Regions from separate parts of the Homo sapiens genome. Here all the other regions are linked to region 2. The links are contacts of gene promoters, found by promoter capture Hi-C in blood cells and fetal thymus (Javierre and others, 2016). All regions are on one chromosome and are shown on one strand. The core of a region is centred on a gene start or on the middle of the fragment in contact, and the rest is flanking DNA. Distances in the headings are between cores, read along the strand shown.

Region 1 (2,898 bases), core at 61-2,560, 160 kb after region 2:
TTCTGCATGTACTTCCAAATTCTATCAGCTCTGTCCATTACCCAGGTCCAAAGCTGCTTCCACATTTTTAGTTATTTGTTACAGAAGCACCCCACTTCTTAGTACCAATTTCTGCCTTGGCCATTTGGGACTCCCATCCCCACTCCTTCTCTCTGTTTTTAAATTTAATTATTTTTTTTTTTTTTTGAGATAAAGTCTTGCTTTGTCACTCAGGCTGGAGTGCAGTGGTGTGATGTTGGCTCACTGCATCCTCCACCTCCCAGGTTCAAGCGATTCTCCTGGCTCAGCCTCCTGAGTAGCTGGGATTACAGGTGTGTGCCATCACACCTGGCTAATTTTTGTATTTTTAGTAAAGGCAGGGTTTTATCATCTTGGCCAGTCTGGTCTTGAACCCCTGACCCCAGGTGATCCACCCGCCTTGGCCTCCCAAAGTGCTGGGATTACAGGCATGAGCCACCACACCCAGCTTCTCTTTTTTTTAAGTCAGGGTTTCTCTCCGTCACCCAGGCTGGTGTGCAGTGGCGCTGTCATAGCGCACTGCAGCCTTGACTTCCTGGGCTGAAGCCGTCCTCCCACCTTAGACTCCTGAGCAGCTAGGAGTACAGGTGTGTGCCATGATGCCCGGCTAATTTTTTGACTTCTCTCTAGAGATAACCTCTCATTAGGCAGGGCGCAGTGGCTCATGCCTGTAATCCCAACACTTTGGGAGGCCGAGGCGGGCAGATCATGAGGTCAGGAGATCGAGACCATCCTGGCTAACATGGTGAAACCCCGTCTCTACTAAAAATACAAAAAAATTAGCTGGGCGTGGTGGCGGGAGCCTGTAGTCCCAGCTACTCAGGAGGCTGAAGCAGGAGAATGGCGTGAACCCAGGAGGTAGAGCTTGCAGTGAGTCGAGATCACGCTACTGCACTCCAGCCTGGGCAACAGAGCGAGACTCCGTCTCAAAAAAAAAAGAGATAAGCTCTCATTACATTTCCCAGACTGCTCACGAACTCCTGGCCTCAAGCAATCCTCCTGCCTCCCAAAGTGCTGGGACTACAGGTGTGAGCCACCATGCCTGGTCTCCCTCTCTCTTTTGAATGGAGATATGTTTACTTTTAGAAGTAGTATGTACTTACCACAAAAAATGTTAAATGATATGGAACTGTATGGGCTAGAAATTGAAAAGCTTCCATGTCTCCACCCCTAAGAGTAATTGACACCCCTTTAGCATGGTCAGATTTTGTACATACATACTGTCCCCACTTTTTCTTTATTCTTGCTTGTTTGTTTCGTTTCCTTCAGGTCTCCAGGAAACCTAGAGAAAAACCGTTATGGGGATGTACCCTGCCTGGACCAAACTAGAGTGAAGCTAACAAAGCGAAGTGGCCATACTCAGGTAGACAGATAAATGTAATCTTTTTAGGTGCACTGGGGGAAATAGAGCTTCTTCCAAAGTGAAGCTTACTAATACTTCGGTAGAATGAAAGTAGACTCCGAGGCCAGAGAGATTAGGTTTGAGTTTATATTTTGCTACATACTAGTCTGTGACCATAGGCAAGTCCTCAAATGCCCATCTCACAGTATTGAGTGGAAATTAAATGAAATTCTTTATGTGAATGCTGATAGTGCAAGGTCTGTTGTATTGTAGGTGCTTCATAGATGTTAAATTATTTATCATTTTACTCCTTAGTTGTAAAGTCATGGTCATATAGTGCAATTCCTTTGGTGAGTATATATGCATCAATACAAAGCAACTTTGATTATAAGTGACCTCTGATTTCTCCATCTGTATCTGAGGAAATTGTGGACAACTTATGTATACATAAATGTCTAGGGATAGAGATGAAATGGTCAAATGACTATATTATTTAATATATTAATTTGATTATATCTACATGTTAAAAGCCTCATATGTAATCTATTAACAGAGATATTTAATGAACATTTTATTCAAACACTTTACATACACCTTTAACTTTAGTGTCTTTGTCACATTTGAGCCACTTTTTTTTTTCTCCCTCAAGACAAGGTCTTGCTTTATTGCCCAGGCTAGGTACAGTGATCACAGCTCACTGCAACCTTGACCTCCTGGGCTCAAGTGATTCTTGTACCTCAGCCTCCCAAGTAGCTGAGACCACAGGTGTGTGCCACATACATGGCTAATTTTTAAATACTTTTGTAGAGACAAGTTCTCACTATGTTGCCTAGTCTGGTCTTGAACTCTTGTGCTCAAACAATCCTCTTGCCTCAGCCTCCCTAAGTGCTGGAATTACAGGCCAATTTTTGAGTCAGTCTAACAAGGTTTTCCAGAGTACAACATCTTTATTTACTTTTAAGTGTGTGGCATTGTGACTGGAAATTTTATCCTAAACCAGGAAAATCTGTTAGGGTAACATTAGGACAAATTTTTTTTTTTTTTTTTTTTTTTTGAGACGGAGTCTTGCTCTGTCCCCCAGGCTGGAGTGCAGTGGCGCAATATTGGCTCACCGCAAGCTCCACCTCCCAGGTTCACGCCATTCTCCTGCCTCAGCCTCCCGAGTAGCTGGGACTACAGGTGCCCACCACCACGCCCGGCTAATATTTTGTGTTTTTAGTAGAGACGGGGTTTCACCATGTTAGCCAGGATGGTCTCGATCTCCTGACCTCGTGATCCGCCCGTCTCGGCCTCCCAAAGTGCTGGGATTACAGGCATGAGCCACTAGGCCCGGCCAGGACAAGTTGGTTTTTTAATTCATCCTGCATCTTATGCATCCCCTATAATATGATTCATTCACTTATTCCTTTGTAAAATCCTTAAAAAACAGAAAATTGAGACAGGGTCTCACTCTGTCACCCAGGCTTGAGTGCAGTGACTTGATCGTAGCTCACTGCACCCTTGAACTCCTGGGCTCAAGCGATCCTCCCACCTCTGCC
Region 2 (2,713 bases), core at 74-2,573:
GCTGTTCTGGCCCTGCAGCCAGCCATCCAGTGAGGTCTCGCTAAAGATGACCAGGTCCTCATCCTGCTGGATGCTGATTTCCTCCTTGTTCTCACTGTGAAAGTCATAGAGGGCTCGGCCTTTCAGTGCCATGGCTGGGCTGGGTGGTATAGAAAGATGGGAAGGAGAGGGTCCTGCCCAGACCGGGGATGCTCACAAGGCAGTCCAAGAATGCACTCGCAGCTGAATGGCGCTTACACAGTTCAATCTCTCAGGTCCTAAGGTGGGGTCTCAGCACCCACAGATGCTGTCCAGTCTCCCCCTCTTCAAAGCAATGTCCATGGCCCAGAAACTGCCCTATCAGGTCTCCGGGCATATGCTTGTGAGCAGGGAGGGCTCATGTCCACAGTCTCCTCCTCCCTTAGCAGCCTCTGGGGGGTTAGAGGGGAATCTCTCCTAACTCCTACTCCCAGAAGAAAAGTCAAGTGACCTGGAGAAATCTGCCCTGCGAGGGGAAAAATTCGACACTTTCCACTGGAACAACGTTCTAAAATAGAAGAGACTCACTCTGAAACCACCATTCCAGAAACCCGGGCAGGGCTCGGCTGTCCCTCTGGCTCCCAGATTCTTTTGGCGGCTCTCGCTTTGGGAGGCTCTCACATTCCTCTGCAGATCTGCCCCTTCCTCCTTCCTCCTCTTGCTCCTGGGCCACTGGGTTTTCAAAAATCCGGAAAATCCAAGAGGGGCAAGGAGAAAAGCAGCAGCCGCCTGAATCGAGTCCAAGGGTGGATGTGTCCGGCTTCACAACGAGCCAGGCCGGGAAAACAAGGACTGAGGCTTACACAACAGGCCGCCAACTCTTCGACCCCGGCTGCGCAGCCGGAGCCCCCGCCGGCTCGGGCGCCCTCTCCCCGCCCCAGAAGTGGCCAGCCCCAACCCCGGAGGAAGGAGGGGGCGCGACGAGGCTGTCGGGCGACTTCTAGCCACTCGCTGAGTGGTCTCTTTTGTTTGCCTAATTCCTCAGCAGTTTCTGAGCCTGACGCTGACCCTGCTCTGAATCCCAGGAACCCCGTCCAAAGGTAACCCCAGCAGAAACCGGTTCCTCACCCGGGACTTACGACCCCCGATCACCACCCTCGCGTGCACGCACACACTCAACAGTTTGGAGTTTGGAGAGTGAGCTCCGGCGAGCAGATGGCGCGGCCAGCCGTCTGTCCGTCCGTCCTCCTCTCCGCCCTGCGGGGCCCGGCCAGTGGGGGGCGGGCTGCGCCCCCAGCCTGCCTTCCCCGGCGCTCGCAGACCCTCCGCTCCGCCAGCGAGAAGGCAGCTCCAAAACAAAAAGGCGATTCCGGGAGGTGGCGTCCTGAGGAAGGAGGGGATCGCCAAAGGGGAGGTGAGGGGTGGGGAGAGGGAGGAGGGAGGGGGAAGCAGGCTGGAGAATCGGGCAAACTCCGCTGCACTTCCGTGCGTCCCGGCGGGGCAGGGACGGCCAGCTCCGCCCTCCCGCGGGCCCGGGGCGCTGCAGCCGAGCCCCCGCCTACTCCTCCGCGCGGCTTCCCAGCTGGCCAGCGCCCTCGCTCGCTGGCGCTCAGTCCGGGAGGCGAGAGGGAGGAAACGACCCGGGAACGAGGGGGCCCGAGAGCCTCCGGGGCTGGTCCCTGGGACCGCCACCTCCCCTCCTCTCCCTCCGCCTGTCCGCCCTCGCCGGGAGACACCTCACGCCCCCGTGGTTGGAGCGCCCGGCGGGGGAGCTTGCCAGCTGCCGCTGCCTCGCTTCCTGGACTCCGTCATCCTCCTGCCTTTTCCGTGACGCAAATGGAGTAAAACTCCGAAAGTTTGCAAAGCGTGGGGCTGCAAGGAGCACCGCGCCAGAGCCAGGATCGGGAGATCGGGGTGGGGGGAGGGGGGTGCGTGGAAAGCCGCCGCGCCAGCTGGGGTTGGGGAGCAGAGTCGCGGACTCGCCTTCCCACCTTCCCATTCCCCACTCCTGCTCCGCAGGGACGGGTCGTGGCGCAGCTCAGAGATTGTTTTCCGGAGGAACAGAAACGGCCTGCGCGTTCCAGGCGTCTGACCTAAGATACCGAGAGCTGCGGGTGCAGCACCCTAGCCAGACAGGGCGACCCTGCCCTGGGCGACTAGCTTGGAAGGAGGGAAAGACACTACTCTACATCTGCAGCGACAGGGAACAAGTCTAGGTGCCACCCGGTTCCGTGTTGCTTAGTACAGCAGCGGGGACTGGATGTTCTGTGCTAGCCAGCGGCAGCAAGGAGAGAAGTGGTCAGGTAGAGAATCTTCGAGAAGAGGCAAGTGGGATCTGACCCTCGGTCAGCATATCGGGAACACTTTGGGCATTGATTCTGCTAGGCACTGTGCTGGGCACTGGGGAGTAGTACACCACAAGGCAGTCGGGGTTTCTATCCTGGGGGGCTTACAGTCCACCCTCTCTTGTCTTTAATCAATCCATTCTGTCTCAGTCATTCATTCAGCCAAGTCATGCACTCAAGAAACATTAACTGAGTACCTACTCTGCACCAGGCCCCTGAGCTACAAAGACAAATAAGACATTATCCTTATTTTCCAAAAGCTCAGATATGTTGTGACAAGTAGACAAATGCTCCCTGCCCAGTGTGACTAGTTAGTGCCATGAAAAGTGCACATGAGGGTACCTACCCCAGCCTGGGTAGAGCAAGGATCAAGGAAAGCTTCCTGAAGGAGGAAGTGCCTAAGATGAGGC
Region 3 (2,939 bases), core at 154-2,653, 200 kb after region 2:
CAGATGTTAGTACCTGGGAATTTTAACTGGAATTAAGAGGTTATATCCCTGGCATTCAGTAGTTTAGCATAGTGCTTTTCATGGCTTTCTCTCTTTTCTGGGCAATCCACCAGCCAAGAGTTTGTTAAGCTTTACTTTCTGTAGGCCTTTAAAAAAATAAATAGTATATGCTTTTTCAAAATACACCTTCCTCGCCCCTTGAAAAATAAAAGCTGATATTTATTGAGCACTTACTGTGTCACAGATACTGTGTTAGGCACTAGACTTTTTTTTTTTTTTGAGATGGAGTCCTGCTCTGTCTCCCAGGCTGGAGTGCAGTGGTGCAATCTCAGCTCACTGCAACTTCCGCCTCCCGGGTTCTAGCGATTGTCCTGCCTCAGCCTCCACGAAGAAGAAGCTGGGGCGCCACCACACGCCTGGCTAAGTTTTGTACTTTTGGTAGAGGCAGGGTTTCACCATGTTGATCAGGTTGGTCGCAGACTCCTGACCTCGTGATCCGCCCGCCTCAGCCTCCCAAAGTACTGGGATTACAGGCATGATCCACTGCACCCGGCCGCATAATGTCTTTTTTTCTCATGTCTTTTTTTTTTTTTTTTTAGACGAAGTCTCGCTCTGTCACCAGGCTGGAGTGCAGTGGCATGATCACAGCTCACTGCAGTGTTGATCTTCTGGACTTAAGCGACCCTCCTACCTTAGCCTCCCATGTAGCTGGGACTACAGGTGTGTGCCACCACGCACCTGGCTAATTTTTTTTATATTTTTATAGAGGTGAAGTCCTGCTGTGTTGCCCAGGCTGGTCTCGAACTCCTGGGCTCAAGAGGTCCTTCTGCCTCAGCCTCTCAAAAGTGCTAGGATTAAGACGTGAGTCACCGTGCCCGGTCATGGGTGGCAATTTCTACCTGATGTATTTCTTATTTGCCCCTTTTGCTTTTGTTTTCCCTACCCACTTTTTGTCTTGTATGCTTGTATGTTACCCATATTTCTCAGCATGACAGTGGACCCTTCATGAGTCTTCTTGGTGTCCTCCAGGGCTAGGCTTGCTGACATATGGGCTATTGGAGGATATGCAGGTCCACATCCTTTATTTGCAGTTCTGAAATGCAAGAGTTTTTGTTTTTTGGTAAGTCTAGTTCCACAACTAGTTTTGGGGTACAGCCTGACCTGGGCTATCCTGCATGATGCAGAAATGTGACTGCTTGATTATGGGGAGCTACTCAGCCCTAGCTGGGAGAGAGAGATGATACAGTATATGTACCATATTACCTTTCTAAAATCCAAACAATGCTGATGACTCTAACGGGGATCTCTCCCTCTACCATAGACTAATATGTTTAGTGGCCCACTCAAGGTCTCCACTCGATGTCTCCTCTTGGATAACTAAGAGACATTGTTGACTCTTCTGTGTCTTTTTCATATGTGGTCCATCAGTAAATTTTACTGCTTTATATTCAAAATACTATCCAGAATTAGACCACTTAGGATCTGCATCTCCACTGCCCTAGTCAGTGCCTGTGCATCTCTAGCTTGGATTCTATTCTCCTTGTTTTGTTACTGCGGCTCTTAAATGTGTTCTCAACATAGCAACCCAAGTGATTCTTTTGAAACCTAAGTCATACCGTGTCACTTCTCTGCTTAAAACCATCCAGTGGCTTTCCATTTCAGTCTGAGTATTAAACCTGAGTCCTTATTTAGATATGTCTGTAATGAGCTGGGCGCGGTGGCCCATGCCTGTAATACCAGCACTTTGGGAGGCTGAGGCAGGCGGATCACGAGGTCAGGAGATTGAGACCATCCTGGCTAACATGGTCTCCACTAAAAAAAATACAAAAGAGTTAGCCGGGCATGGTGGCACACGCACCTGTAGTCCCAGCTACTCGGGAGGTTGAGGCAGGAGAATGGTGTGAACCCGGGAGGTGGAGCTTGCAGTGAGCCAAGATCGTGCCACTGCACTCTAGCCTGGGCGACAGAGCGAGACTGTCTCAAAAGAAAAAAAAAAGGATATGTCTGTAATTTCACCATTTTGGGAGCTCAAGTGGGAGGATCGTTTGAGTCCAGGAGTTTGAGACCAGCTTGGGCATCATAACAAGACCCTGTCTCTATAAAAAAATTAAAAATTAGCCAAGCATGCTGGCGCGTGCCTGTAGTCCCAGTTACTTGAGAGGCTGAGGCAGGAGGATTGCTTGAGCTCAGGAGCTTGAGGCTGCAGTGAGCCATGACTGTGCCACTGCACCCCAGCCTTGACGACAAAATGAGACCCTGTGTCAAAAAATAAAAAAACACCTGTAAGAACAAATCTGATGTACCCTCTGCCTGCCACCCTTATCCTAGTACCTCTCTGACTACATTTCTGACTAGTCCTTCTTTCGTTTTTCTTCAGCTACCCAGCCTTCATGCTGTTTTGGAACATGTCAAGCACATGTGAGCCCTCACAAAGACATGAGGGTCTTTGCGGTTGCTGTCCCCTCTGCCTAGAAGGCTTCCTCCACTAATTTCTGCATGACTAGCTCCCTCACTTCCTTTACTCAGAAGTTACCTTATCAGTAGGTATTATCTGACCATTCTTATCTACAATTTCAAAAACTCTTCCTTGCCTTTTGTTCTTGATACCTGTCACTGCCTACTATTCTAAATATTATACTTTGTCTATTGTGTCATCTTTCACTAAAATATAAGCTTCTTGAGGGAAGAGATTTTTGTTTACCGTTGTATCTCCAGCTCCTAAAACACCTGGTGCATAGTATGTGCTCAGTAGATATTAGAGAATGTATACATGAATGAATGATTTGGTTTCCACCACAGACAAGACAAAGCAGTATGCTGAGCATGGTAGAGGATACATAGATGGTTAAAGATGTTATGTGCCCATGTTTGTGTGGGAGCAGAAGAGCTAATGTGATAAAAGCAGTGTGAGATGTGAGTGACACTTCCACCTGTCCTTT
Region 4 (2,700 bases), core at 71-2,570, 180 kb after region 2:
CTCTCCCTTCTCCTGTGCACCCCTTTCTCATTTCTATATAGATGAGGAAGGTGAGGTCCAGAGGGTTACAGTGATTTGCTCTAAAACGAGCTCAAGTTGGTCTGCTTACAAAGCCTGTGGTCTCTTCACTGCATGGAAGATGGAGATCTTGTGTTTGGAGAACAGAGGTTTGTTTAGCTCTCCTTTCAGAGTAAAAAAAGTTCTTAAATTCCAGGTTGTTGTTCTTGTGCCCATGCTTCATGTAGTAGACGCGAAGGGTGACAGGGTTGGTGACTGACTGTCCTAGCTAGGACCTCCTGATGTAGGGTCCTCATGTCTGCAGCGTACCAAAGGGGTTATCATTCTCCCCAGGAGACTCCATATCTATGGGTACATGGTCTTTGTGAGAAGATCTTGAGTCATTTGCATTTATCTCTTAGAAAGAAAGGAACCAGAAGCTTTGTACATGGAAGACCACTCCCCATATCATACCTGTTGGCTGTTGATGGCCTGCCCAGTTGGGGCAGTTGTGGCTGGGAAATATTGGGGTGTTCTTAATAATAGTCATAGCAGCCAATTTACTGGATGCTCACTCTATTCCAGGCACTGTTCAGAGTAATTTCTAGGTATCATCTCATTCACCCTCAACAACCTTTTGAGGTAGGTATTGACAGAAGAAAAAAATTGAGAGACAGGAATGTTAATTTGCTACAGCCAGGATCCCAGACCATCTGACTCCAAAGTATCTTCTTTCACCTCTTACACTAGACTTCCTCTAAGGATCCATCTTCTGATCTGCCAATAAATTTTTATCGAGTTTCTTACCATAATCAGGAGCTCAAGTGTAGAGCAGAAGATTAATCTAGTTCCTTCTCCAGATGAGCCTCCATTCTCTTGGGAGTGCACAAACATAAGAAGTGAACAGAGATTCTTGGAAATCTGAGAAACCAGAGAGGTCAGGGGTTTGGTGGAACATGTAAGAAATGGGATTAATGATAAACGGCCTGGAGGAGGTAACTTTAAATTGTCATTTATTTGAAGAGGCTGTAACCCGACTGCCCTGTGAATTTAAGGTTATGCATGAGTTCCTCATTGCATATCTGAAGACTGGTGAGGTTATCTATCACTTCAGCTCCATAAAATGCTGATTTCTGGGCCCATCCAGTAGGTTGTTAGTGAGTGACAGGATTATCCAGGTTTGGGAACCATAGATTTAGTTCATGTTTCTGACCCTATAGAGAGTTAACAAATTGATGTCTCCTAAATTTTCAGTAAAACTCAGAGGAACTCCTCCCACTGCCATTGTTTGTAGCTTTTACCAGCGTGAACCTACCTGTGTTAGGTGTTAAAGGAGGAGGTAAAGGAAAGGGAAGGCAGAGACGCAACCCAGAATCTGTTTGGCAAGTCAGGGTTCTCATACAGGAGACTTAGTGAACAAAGCAAGAGAAAATGCTCAGGGTCCAAGTGCAGTGGCTTTATGCCTGTAATCCCAGTACTTTGGAAGGCCGAGGTGGGCAGATCACCTGAGGTCAGGAGTTTGAGACCAGCCTGACCAATATGATGAAACCCCATCTCTACTAAAAATATAAAAATTACCCGGGTGTGGTGGTATGTGCTTGTAATCCCAGCTACTCGGGAGGCTGAAATGGGAGAATCACTTGAATCTGGGAGGCAGAGGTTGCAATGAGCCGAGATCGCGCCATTGCACTCTAGCCTGGGCAACAAGAGTAAAACTCCATCTCAAAAAAAATAAATAAATAAAAAAGAAAGACAGTGTTCAGGAAAGAAGAAAACACTGAGCTAAAGCAGGCTTCTGCTTCTGATTTGATGGCTGTTTGTTTCACCTTTCTCTAACATTCCCATGCTATATAATTTTTCAAACATGAGATAATCCCTGTGTCCTTTTTCCCATTGCTCCCTTCATCTTGCCCATCCTCATTGGCTAGGATGGGACTCCTGAGACGAAGGGTGCCCCAGCATCCTCAGCCTCGGAGGCCCACCCTTATCAGTCTTCATGTGACAGTATGCAGGTAAATGACAGAGTAGGACTTGTTCTTGGGAGAATGGACTATTTAGCATCATAGCCCTAGGGAAATTTGGTTCCTTCCCTGAAAGGAATGCTTCCTGTCTCTTGGGACAGACAGACACACATACAAAAACTTTTATAAATCAGAGACCTAGAGGGAATTGGGCCAAGAGGCATTGGCCAAGTAGAAAAGCTTCTCTAGAGTGACCCAGCTCTTTTGTGGTTTTGAGGTCTTACCACTGAACCAAACCCAAGTCCTAGGTTCCCTCTGTAAAAGAAGGGGCTACACTAGATGATCCTACCATGGGTCCTCTGACTGTCAGGGTCCAGTTCTTTGTTAGACAGTGCAAACACCCATAGAGGAGCTATTAGGCCTTTACTTGGGTTGAGTTGGCTCCCACTAGCACTCCCCACTTTTCATTTTTTTTACTTTCAGAGACAGAGTCTCACTCTGTTGCCTAGGTTAGAGGGGAGTGGCATGATCATGGCTCACTGCAGTCTCAACAACTGGGCTCAAGCAGGAACCCAGCTTTTTTTTTTTTTCTCTCTCTCTCTCTAGAGACAGGATCTCACTATGTTGCCCAGGCTGGTCTCGAACTCCAGCCTCAAGCAATCCTCCTGCCTCGGCCTCCCAAAGTGAGAGGATTACAGGCATGGGCCACCACACCCAGCCTCTCCAGTTTTAGTGTGTTTTC
Region 5 (2,738 bases), core at 31-2,530, 140 kb after region 2:
CAGTGAATTCCTGCCAATTAATTTTCTACCTTCAAAAAATCCTCCTGGCGTGTCTTCTAGAGCCTGTTCTGCTTCTGTTAGTGCATTCACTTATATTCTCTACCTGATGCATTAGTCAGTTCAATACAGACTGCCTCTCTTACTGTCCTACGAGCTTCTTGAAGTTCAAAACTAAACACAGTTTATCTGGTTCTCACTTTCTATAGCACCTTGCATAAGATAGTACTGAAGGAACGTGTCCTGGAGGTAACTTAGGGATAGCTGCTACTTCCAAAATTTATCCTAGTGCTGCATAGGCCTTTAATATTTAACAGCTTGTAATATAACTGCATTAGTTGAACTGGCATTAGAATTTGTTCAACTGGAAACATCATTCAATCCCTTGACCACCAGGGTTGTGGAGGAAAGTTTTTCGTTATGTCTCTTTCTACATTTATTCCTGGCATTTTTTTTTCTCAGAATACCTTGTTGCTTCCCAATTTCAAAAGCGTTCAAAATTACTTTAATTCTGGGCCAAGTGTAATGGCTCATGCTTATAATACTAACACTTTGGGAGTCCGAGGCCAAGGCGGGAAGATCGCTTGAGGCCAGGAGTTTGAGACCAGCCTAGGCAACACAGTGAGACCCCGCCGCCACAATAAAACCAGAAACTTTAATTCTGTTATAATCTCCTGCGTGTTCCATGATTAAAAGATTTATGGTCTCAGTTACTGATTGCAGCAATTAAAAGACAGGACATGAAAGTGAAAACATTTGGTTCTGTGGAAGCTGCTTAGAGACCTAATGACGCAGAGTAGGAGAGAGCTTTTCTTTTTTTTTTTTTTTTTTTTTTTTTGAGAGTGTCTCACTCTGTTGCCTAGGCTGGAGTGCAGTGGCACGATCTTGGCTCACTGCAGCCCCGCCTCCTGAGTTCAAGCGATTCTTCTGCCTCAGCCTCCTGAGTAGCTGGGAGTACAGGCGCACGCTACCACACCCAGCTAATTTTTGTATTTTTAGTAGAGACGGTGTTTCACCATATTGGCCAGGCTGGTCTCGAACTCCTGACCTCATGATCCGCCCACCTCAGCCTCCCAAAGTGCTGGGATTACAAGCGTGAGCCACCTTTTTTGAGACGGAGTCTCGCTCTGTCTCCCAGGCTGGAGTGCAGTGAAGCGATCTCGGCTCACTGCAAGCTCCGCCTCCCAGGTTCAAACCATTCTCCTGCCTCAGCCTCCCTAGTAGCTGGGACTACAGGCGTGTGCTGTCACGCCCGGCTAATTTTTTGTGTTTTTAGTAGAGACGGAGTTTCACTGTGTTAGCCAGGATGGTCTTGATCTTCTGACCTCGTGATCCACCCACCTCAGCCTCCCAAAAGTGCTGGGATTACAGGCATAAGCCACCGTGCCCAGCCAGGAGAGATCTTTTCTTTCTTTTTTTTTTTTTTTTTTTGCGACAGAGTTTTGCTGTTGTCGCTGAGGCTAGAGTGCAATGGCATGATCTTGGCTCACTGCAACCTCCGTCCCCCGGGTTCAAGTGATTCTCCTGCCTCAGCCTCCCAAGTAGCTGGGATTACAGGCTCCTGCCAACATGCCCAGCTAATTCTTGTATTTTTTTAGTAGAGATGGGGTTTCACCATGTTGGACAGGCTGGTCTCAAACTCCTGACCTCAGGTGATCCACCTGCCTCAGCCTCCCAAAGTGCTGGGATTATAGGCATGAGCCACCGTGCCAGCTGGAGAGATCTTTTCTAAGGTAACTCTTTGAGAGGAATCCATAGGCAAGTTCTTGCACTTGAATTATAGGAATTATACATGCATGTATAAACTCAAAATATATTAAGCACTTTTTGTAGTCGAAGCACTGGTTCCTGATAATTAAAAATTAAGTGAGACAGTCTACCCTCAAGGAGCTCATGGTCTTGATAGGGAACACAGAGATACACATAGGAGGACTTTGGCTCTGCAGGAACGCAGAGGAGCATATGGCCTCAGGCAGTCAGGAAAGACTTCACAGAAGAGGTGAGCTGTGCTGGTCCATGAAGAGGCAGAGGAGGAAAGGAAGGCATTCCAAGAAGAGGCGACAGCAAAAGAGATGAGCTTTTAGGAGGAAGAGAATCCCCATTCCACAGAGATCCTAAGGAGAACCAGTTAAGCTAATTAGTTCCAGCATGGCTATGTCCAAGCAGAGAGCAGAATTAAGTTTTATGGTTACTACAAAAAATTAGCTGGGCGTGGTTGTGTGCATCTGTATTCCCAGCTACTTGAGGGGCTGAGGTGGAAGGATCACTTGAGCCCAGGAGGTTGAGGCTGCAGTGAGCCTTCATCACGCCACTACACTCCAGGCTGGGTGAAAAAGTGAGACCCTGTCTCAAAAAAAAAGTGTTATCTCACATTTTTCCTGGGCTACCCTGCCTCTGGGTGTCTTGCTTTCATAGAATCCTATCTTTGTGAACAGTTATACCAAGCTGAGTAAAATACAAGCTAACAGGCCTTAGAATTGGTTGTCTGAGTATGGGGTTGACAAAAATAACTACTACCTATGCATTCTTAGTGGCCAAAAAAAGAGTACCAGCATGCAGCGATGCTGGGAAGCCTTGTTAATAATATAAAGCTTTTGTTCACTACATCGTCCTTTCAGAAGATGTATAACAGTGTCCCTAATTCCAGGAGTGAATTTTATATACATTCTGGGAGTTCACACTTTTATCTGGCAAATTCATAGGACTTAAATCTCAGGCAGATGAAATGTAGTCTACTACTT
Region 6 (2,757 bases), core at 16-2,515, 250 kb after region 2:
TGTTATGTTTTTTAGTAGAGACGGTGTTTTACCATGTTGGCCAGGCTGGTCCAGAACTCCTGACCTCAGGTAATCCACCTGCCTCGGCCTCCCAAAGTGCTGGGATTACAGGCATGAGCCACTACACCGAGTCTGGAATCTTTACTATATTTGACAACCTAAGAATTATGTGAACATTAAAGCAATATTCTTGATCAAAAGAATGGCTTGTTATTTTGCCTGGTTTCGGTACAACTCTTTGATCACCACTTTAACTGATCTGAGAGTATTTTATTAGAAAAAGGGGAAACCAAATGCTCAGAAGCAGTTCTTCTTAGGCAGGAAATAATTCATCCCTGGTAGCAGATTTCTGATCCAAAACCAGATGGTAGTAGTCATACCTCAGGATAACTGCATCCTGCCCCTAATTGCTTGTCACTTTTTGGTTTGATTCTTCAGGAAATTCCCTGAGTTGTTTAATTGGTTTAAAAACTTTCTGGGCTATAAGGAGTCTGTACATCTGGAAACTTATCCAAAGGAGCGAGCCACAGAGGGCATTGCTATGGAGATAGATTATGCTTCTTGTAAACGATTGGGCTCCAGCTATCGAGCCTTACCAAAGAGTTACCAGCAGCCCAAGTGTACAGGACGGACTCCTCTCTGTAAAGAGGTAAGGCCTTCCCTAGCAAAGATCAGCCCTGGGTCCTCAGCTTTTTCCAGAAGGGAGTGGTGGTACCAAGGATTGAGAATTTATATGAATGATGAAATTAAGAACCCTTTTAATCCTTTTTAAAAAGAAAATGTTTTCTACTTTTTTGTTTGTTTTTGAGACAGGGTTTCGTTTTGTCACCCAGGCTGTAGTGCAGTGATGTGATCACGGCTCATAGTGCCTCAACCTCCTGGGCTCAAATGATCCTCCCAAGTACCTGGGACTTACACATGCCTTCACACCCAGCTAAAAATATAAAAATAAAAGTTTTTAGTTTTGTAAAGATTGGGTCACTCCTCCTGGGCTCAGGTGATCTTCCTGCTTCGTCCTCCCAAAGCACTGGAATTATATTTCCGCTTATATTCAGCACCCTTTTCTTACTAATAGCTTTTTGTAAACTTGCTAAAGGTGAAATTTGTGAAGTAATATTAGTTGCCTATTTCTCTGCTAGAGTTTTGTCTTTTCATTCAGAATGCTTAATCACCAGAAAGCTTTTTTAGGCTTTTGTTTCAGTCTCTCTTCTTCTACCCAAAGGTTTTAAATGATACCTGGGTTTCCTTCCCTTCGTGGTCTGAGGACTCTACCTTTGTGAGTTCCAAGAAGACTCAATATGAAGAACATATTTATCGTTGTGAAGATGAACGCTTTGAGGTACAAGCTTGTTTGGCATTTGAAGTTGGGGGAAATGGGAGATGCTCAGTGAGACTATCAGTACCTGTCTCTGAGGGTTATTAAGATGGAAGAGCCAAAGGCTCACATTCTTCTATGGTAAGTGCTTGTTGTGGTACTTTCCATGCTTTATGCATTGGTCAAATGTATATATTAGTACATGCTTTATGGCAAATGTGACTTATCTAGGCCACTTTAGCCCTTTTAACTGAAATTGTCCATTGATGACTAAATAATAGTTCTTTTGATTTTGCATGGCATTTTAAGATTATTATGTTTTGCATGGTGAAGAAAATCAGTATCCTAAGGTTTATAGTACTTTCTTGAAGCTGTTTTTAAATTATTTAAGATCTGTGTGTATTGTTACCCTTAGCAAGTATCTTGCCATGGTTAGCAAACCAGCTCTGAGAACTGGCATTTTTCTTTCATGTTTCTGGTATTGATTGCTTTGTTGTTTTTTGTTTGTTTGTTTGTTTGTTTTGTTTTGTTTTTTTGAGACGGAGTCTCGCTCTGTCTCCCAGGCTGGAGTGCAGTGGCGCAATCTCGGCTCACTGCAAGCTCTGCCTCCCAGGTTCATGCCATTCTCCTGCCTCAGCCTCCCGAGTAGCTGGGACTACAGGCGCCCGCCAACACGTCCGGCTAATTTTTTGTATTTTTATTAGAGACGGAGTTTCACCGTGTTAGCCAGGATGGTCTCGATCTCCTGACCTCGTGATCCACCCGTCTCGGCCTCCCAAAGTGCTAGGATTACAGGTGTGAGCCACTGCGCCCAGCTGATTGCTTTGTTTTGTTTTGTTTTTTTGAGACAGGGTCTCATTCTATTGCCCAGGCTGCAGTGCAGTGGCACAATCACAGTTCATTGCAGCCTCAACCTTCCAGACTCAAGTGTGATCCTCCCACCTCAGACCCCCACCCCTACCCGCCACCGAGTGGCTGGGACTACAGGCATGTGCTACCATGCCTGGGTAAATTTTTTTTTTTTTTTTTTAAACTTTAAATTCTGGGATACATGTGCAGAACGTGCAGGTTTGTTACATAGATATACATGTGCTTTGGTGGTTTGCTGCACCTATCAACTCATCATCTAGGTTTTAAGCCCCACATGCATTAGGTATTTGTCCTAATGCTCTCCCTCCCCTTGCCTCCTACCCCCTGTGGCTAATTTTTTGTTTTTTATAGAAACAGTGTTTTACTACATTACCCAGGCTGGTCTCAAACTCTTGGGTCCAAGCGATCATCCCACCCTGGCCTCCCAAAGTGCTGGGATTACACACATGAGCCACCATACCTGGCCTGATTGGCTCCTTTTGAAAGAAGGCTAAATTAGGGACCCCTTTCTTTTTAAAGACAGAGTATTGCTCTGTCAACCAGGCTGGAGTGCAGTGGTGTGATCTCGGCTC
Region 7 (2,718 bases), core at 11-2,510, 230 kb after region 2:
CTGTATACATGCATTTATAGAGAGTTTATATAAGAGTTGGACTATGCTTTAGGTGATGAGAGAATTTCCTCACTATTTTTACATGTAGGTGTCTTATTTATTATGTGAGTGTCATGCAGAGTTTTTAAAGCATAGGATTATTCTATAACTTTTATTTTACTTTTTTGTTTTTTTGAGACAGAGTCTCACTCTGCTGCCCAGGCTGTAGTGCAGTGGCGCCATCTCAACTCACTGCACCCTCCCCTGCCTGGGTTCAAGTGATTCTTATGCCTCAGTCTCCCAAATAGCTGGGATTACAGGCATGCACCACCAAGCCTAATTTTTGTATTTTTTTTTTTTTTTACTAGGACGGGGTTTTTCCATGTTAGCCAGGCTGCTCTCAAACTCCTGGCCTCAAGGGATCCACCCTCCTTGGCCTCCCAGAGTACTAGGATTACAGGCATGAGCCACCACACCTGGCCTATAACTAATTTTTAAACAGTGGTTTGCTTGGTTTGCTGTGACTTTCAGTACCTTTTTGTTTCAGACATATACATATCACACATAATTGCTTTCTTTTGGGTTTCTGTACTTTTTCCGTCTCTGCAGTAGTTACCTTATACCATACCATGTCTTATTGATAACTGTTCTTTTGTTGTGTAATGATGCATGCTATTCTTAAATATCTTCCAAAGTCTTGGTTCCTTTTGCAAACTTAATATATTTTGTGTTCACTTAAGTTGGTCATTAATGAAACATTTTAGTATGGAAAGTTCAGAATATGAATTAAAATAGTCCATTGAATTTCAACAGAAATTGTCATGATATTTGTATAGAAAAACTAACCATCAAACAAGTGGGTATTGACCAACTATACAATCTGATTTCTAGCAACACCGAAACACTGATTAACCATGGCCGTAATGGAAGTCTGAAGAACTCTTAAACAGCCATTTGTCTCGGGGCCGGGTGCGGTGGCTCACGCCTGTAATCCTAGCACTTTAAGAGGCCGAGGCGGGCAGATCACGAGGTCAGGAGATCGAGACCATCCTGGCTAACACAGTGAAATCCCGTCTCTACTAAAAATAGAAAAAAAAATTAGCCGGCCGTGGTGGCGGGCGCCTGTAGTCCCAGCTACTTGGGAGGCTGAGGCAGGAGAATGGCGTGAACCCGGGAGGCAGAGCTTGCGGTGAGCCGGGAAAGCGCCACTGCACTCCAGCCTGGGCGATAGAGCGAGACTCTGTCTCAAAAAAAACAAAAACAAAAAAGCGGCCATTTGTCTCAATCCATTAGTGCTGCTATAACAAAATACCTGAGACTGTATAATCTAAATAATAGCAGTTTATTTCTCACAGTTCTGGAGAAGTTCTGGGGGCTGGGAAATCTAAAATCAAGGTGCTGGCCGGGTGCGGTGGCTCACGCCTATAATCCCAGCACTTTGGGAGGCTGAGGAGGGCAGATCATTTGAAGTCAGGAGTTCAAGACCAGCCTGGCCAACATGGTAAAACTACCGAAGATACAAAAAAATGAGCCAGGCATGATGGCATGCACCTGTAATCCCAGTTACTCTGGAGGCTGAGGCACGAGAATCGCTTGAACTCAGGAGGTGGAAGTTGCAGTGAGCCGAATTTGTGCCACTGCACTCCAGCCTGGGTGACAGAGTGAGACCATGTCTCAAAATAAATAAATAGGCCAGACGCAGTGGCTTACGCCTGTAATCCCAGCACGTTGGGAGGCCGAGGCGGGCGGATCACGAGGTCAGGAGATTGAGACCAGCCTGGCCAACATGGTGACACCCCATCTCTACTAAAAATACAAAAATTAGCTGGGCGTGGTGGCAGGCGCCTATAATCCCAGTTACTCAAGAGGCTGAGGCAGGAGAATCGCTTGAACCCGGGAGGCGGAGGTTGTATTGAGCTGAGATCGTGCCTTTGCACTCCAGCCTGGGAGACAAGAGCAAGACTTCATCTAAAAAAATAATAATAATAATAAATAAAATAAATAATAAAATAAAATCCAGGTGCCAGTTGGTTTGGTGTCTGGTGAGGGCCTGAACTCTGTTTTTCGAGATGGTCCCTGAATGTGTGTCCTTACACTGGAAGGGAGAAGGGCCGAAGGGACTAACACTGGTTCACTCCAGCCCTTTTATAAGGTCCCTAATCCCATTCATGAGGGCTCCACAATCACTTTCTGAAGGCCTCACTTCTTAATATCATCATATCGGTGATTAAGTTTCGATGTAAGAATTTTGTGGGACACATTTCAGACCACAGCACCAGTTAATGATTGACTTGAATGTAAATGTTCCATTTTGCAACAAATCAAAAGACTATCTATGCCTGGCCAGGTGTGGTGGCTCACATCTGTAATCCCAGCACATTGGGAGGCTGAGGCAGGCGGATCAGTTGAGGTCAGGAGTTCAAGACCAGCCTGGCCAACATGGTGAAATCCCATCTCTACTAAAAATACAAAAAAATTAGTTGGATGTGGTGACATGCGCCTGGAATCCCAGCTACTCAGGAGGCTGAGGCAGGAGATATCACTTGAACCCAGGAGGCAGAAGTTGCAGTGACCCGAGATTGCGCCATTGCACTCTAGCCTGGGAGACAAAATGAGACTCCCATCTCAAAAAAAAAAAAAAGAAAAAGACTGGCTTAAATCACATCAAATGTTTATTTCTGAAATTTCTTAAACCTGATATTTTGTATAATTTTAAATATTTAGGCTTCAGTTAAACTA

The links. Contacts are between HindIII fragments. The CHiCAGO score rates a contact against its expected background, and 5 or more counts as called.
Region 1: a fragment that was not itself captured here is called in contact with the fragment with the promoter of SNX33 in region 2 in 6 of 17 cell types (total CD4 T cells, naive CD4 T cells, naive CD8 T cells and 3 more); the score reaches 9.0 in total CD4 T cells.
Region 3: a fragment that was not itself captured here is called in contact with the fragment with the promoter of SNX33 in region 2 in 16 of 17 cell types (fetal thymus, total CD4 T cells, naive CD8 T cells and 13 more); the score reaches 13.0 in fetal thymus.
Region 4: a fragment that was not itself captured here is called in contact with the fragment with the promoter of SNX33 in region 2 in 9 of 17 cell types (activated CD4 T cells, naive CD4 T cells, erythroblasts and 6 more); the score reaches 7.1 in activated CD4 T cells.
Region 5: a contact is called between a fragment that was not itself captured here and the fragment with the promoter of SNX33 in region 2, in 10 of 17 cell types (naive CD4 T cells, naive CD8 T cells, total CD8 T cells and 7 more). The highest score is 23.8, in naive CD4 T cells.
Region 6: a contact is called between a fragment that was not itself captured here and the fragment with the promoter of SNX33 in region 2, in 9 of 17 cell types (naive CD4 T cells, naive CD8 T cells, erythroblasts and 6 more). The highest score is 9.6, in naive CD4 T cells.
Region 7: a fragment that was not itself captured here is called in contact with the fragment with the promoter of SNX33 in region 2 in 5 of 17 cell types (naive CD8 T cells, total CD4 T cells, naive CD4 T cells and 2 more); the score reaches 7.6 in naive CD8 T cells.

What each region holds. Positions count from the first base shown.
Region 1 is chr15:75,488,691-75,491,588 of GRCh38, reverse strand. It overlaps PTPN9 (protein tyrosine phosphatase non-receptor type 9), which reads left to right. Exons shown (of 13, transcript NM_002833.4): 8 at 1,288-1,381. The region is part of intron 2 of LOC105370902 (a long non-coding RNA gene); the gene reads right to left. Among named protein-coding and RNA genes, the nearest start is that of SIN3A, 38 kb to the right of the region's middle. The HindIII fragment of the contact is 274 bases long and covers 1,174-1,447 here.
Region 2 is chr15:75,646,522-75,649,234 of GRCh38, reverse strand. SNX33 (sorting nexin 33) reads right to left here and starts at 1,323. Exons shown (of 2, transcript NM_153271.2): 1 at 1-1,323. The coding sequence starts at 132. RefSeq lists an enhancer at 848-1,539 and a silencer at 1,165-1,704. The HindIII fragment of the contact is 30,102 bases long and covers 1-2,683 here.
Region 3 is chr15:75,445,834-75,448,772 of GRCh38, reverse strand. The region is part of intron 1 of SIN3A (SIN3 transcription regulator family member A); the gene reads left to right. Among named protein-coding and RNA genes, the nearest start is that of SIN3A, 4.4 kb to the left of the region's middle. The HindIII fragment of the contact is 2,544 bases long and covers 132-2,675 here.
Region 4 is chr15:75,464,142-75,466,841 of GRCh38, reverse strand. PTPN9 (protein tyrosine phosphatase non-receptor type 9) reads left to right here. Exons shown (of 13, transcript NM_002833.4): 13 at 1-2,700. Among named protein-coding and RNA genes, the nearest start is that of SIN3A, 14 kb to the right of the region's middle. The HindIII fragment of the contact is 1,761 bases long and covers 440-2,200 here.
Region 5 is chr15:75,506,137-75,508,874 of GRCh38, reverse strand. All of the region lies in intron 6 of PTPN9 (protein tyrosine phosphatase non-receptor type 9), which reads left to right. Among named protein-coding and RNA genes, the nearest start is that of SIN3A, 56 kb to the right of the region's middle. The HindIII fragment of the contact is 2,620 bases long and covers 1-2,590 here.
Region 6 is chr15:75,398,622-75,401,378 of GRCh38, reverse strand. SIN3A (SIN3 transcription regulator family member A) reads left to right here. Exons shown (of 21, transcript NM_001145358.2): 11 at 439-649; 12 at 1,223-1,339. Among named protein-coding and RNA genes, the nearest start is that of MAN2C1, 31 kb to the right of the region's middle. The HindIII fragment of the contact is 167 bases long and covers 1,182-1,348 here.
Region 7 is chr15:75,417,281-75,419,998 of GRCh38, reverse strand. The region is part of intron 3 of SIN3A (SIN3 transcription regulator family member A); the gene reads left to right. Among named protein-coding and RNA genes, the nearest start is that of SIN3A, 33 kb to the left of the region's middle. The HindIII fragment of the contact is 5,237 bases long and covers 1-2,718 here.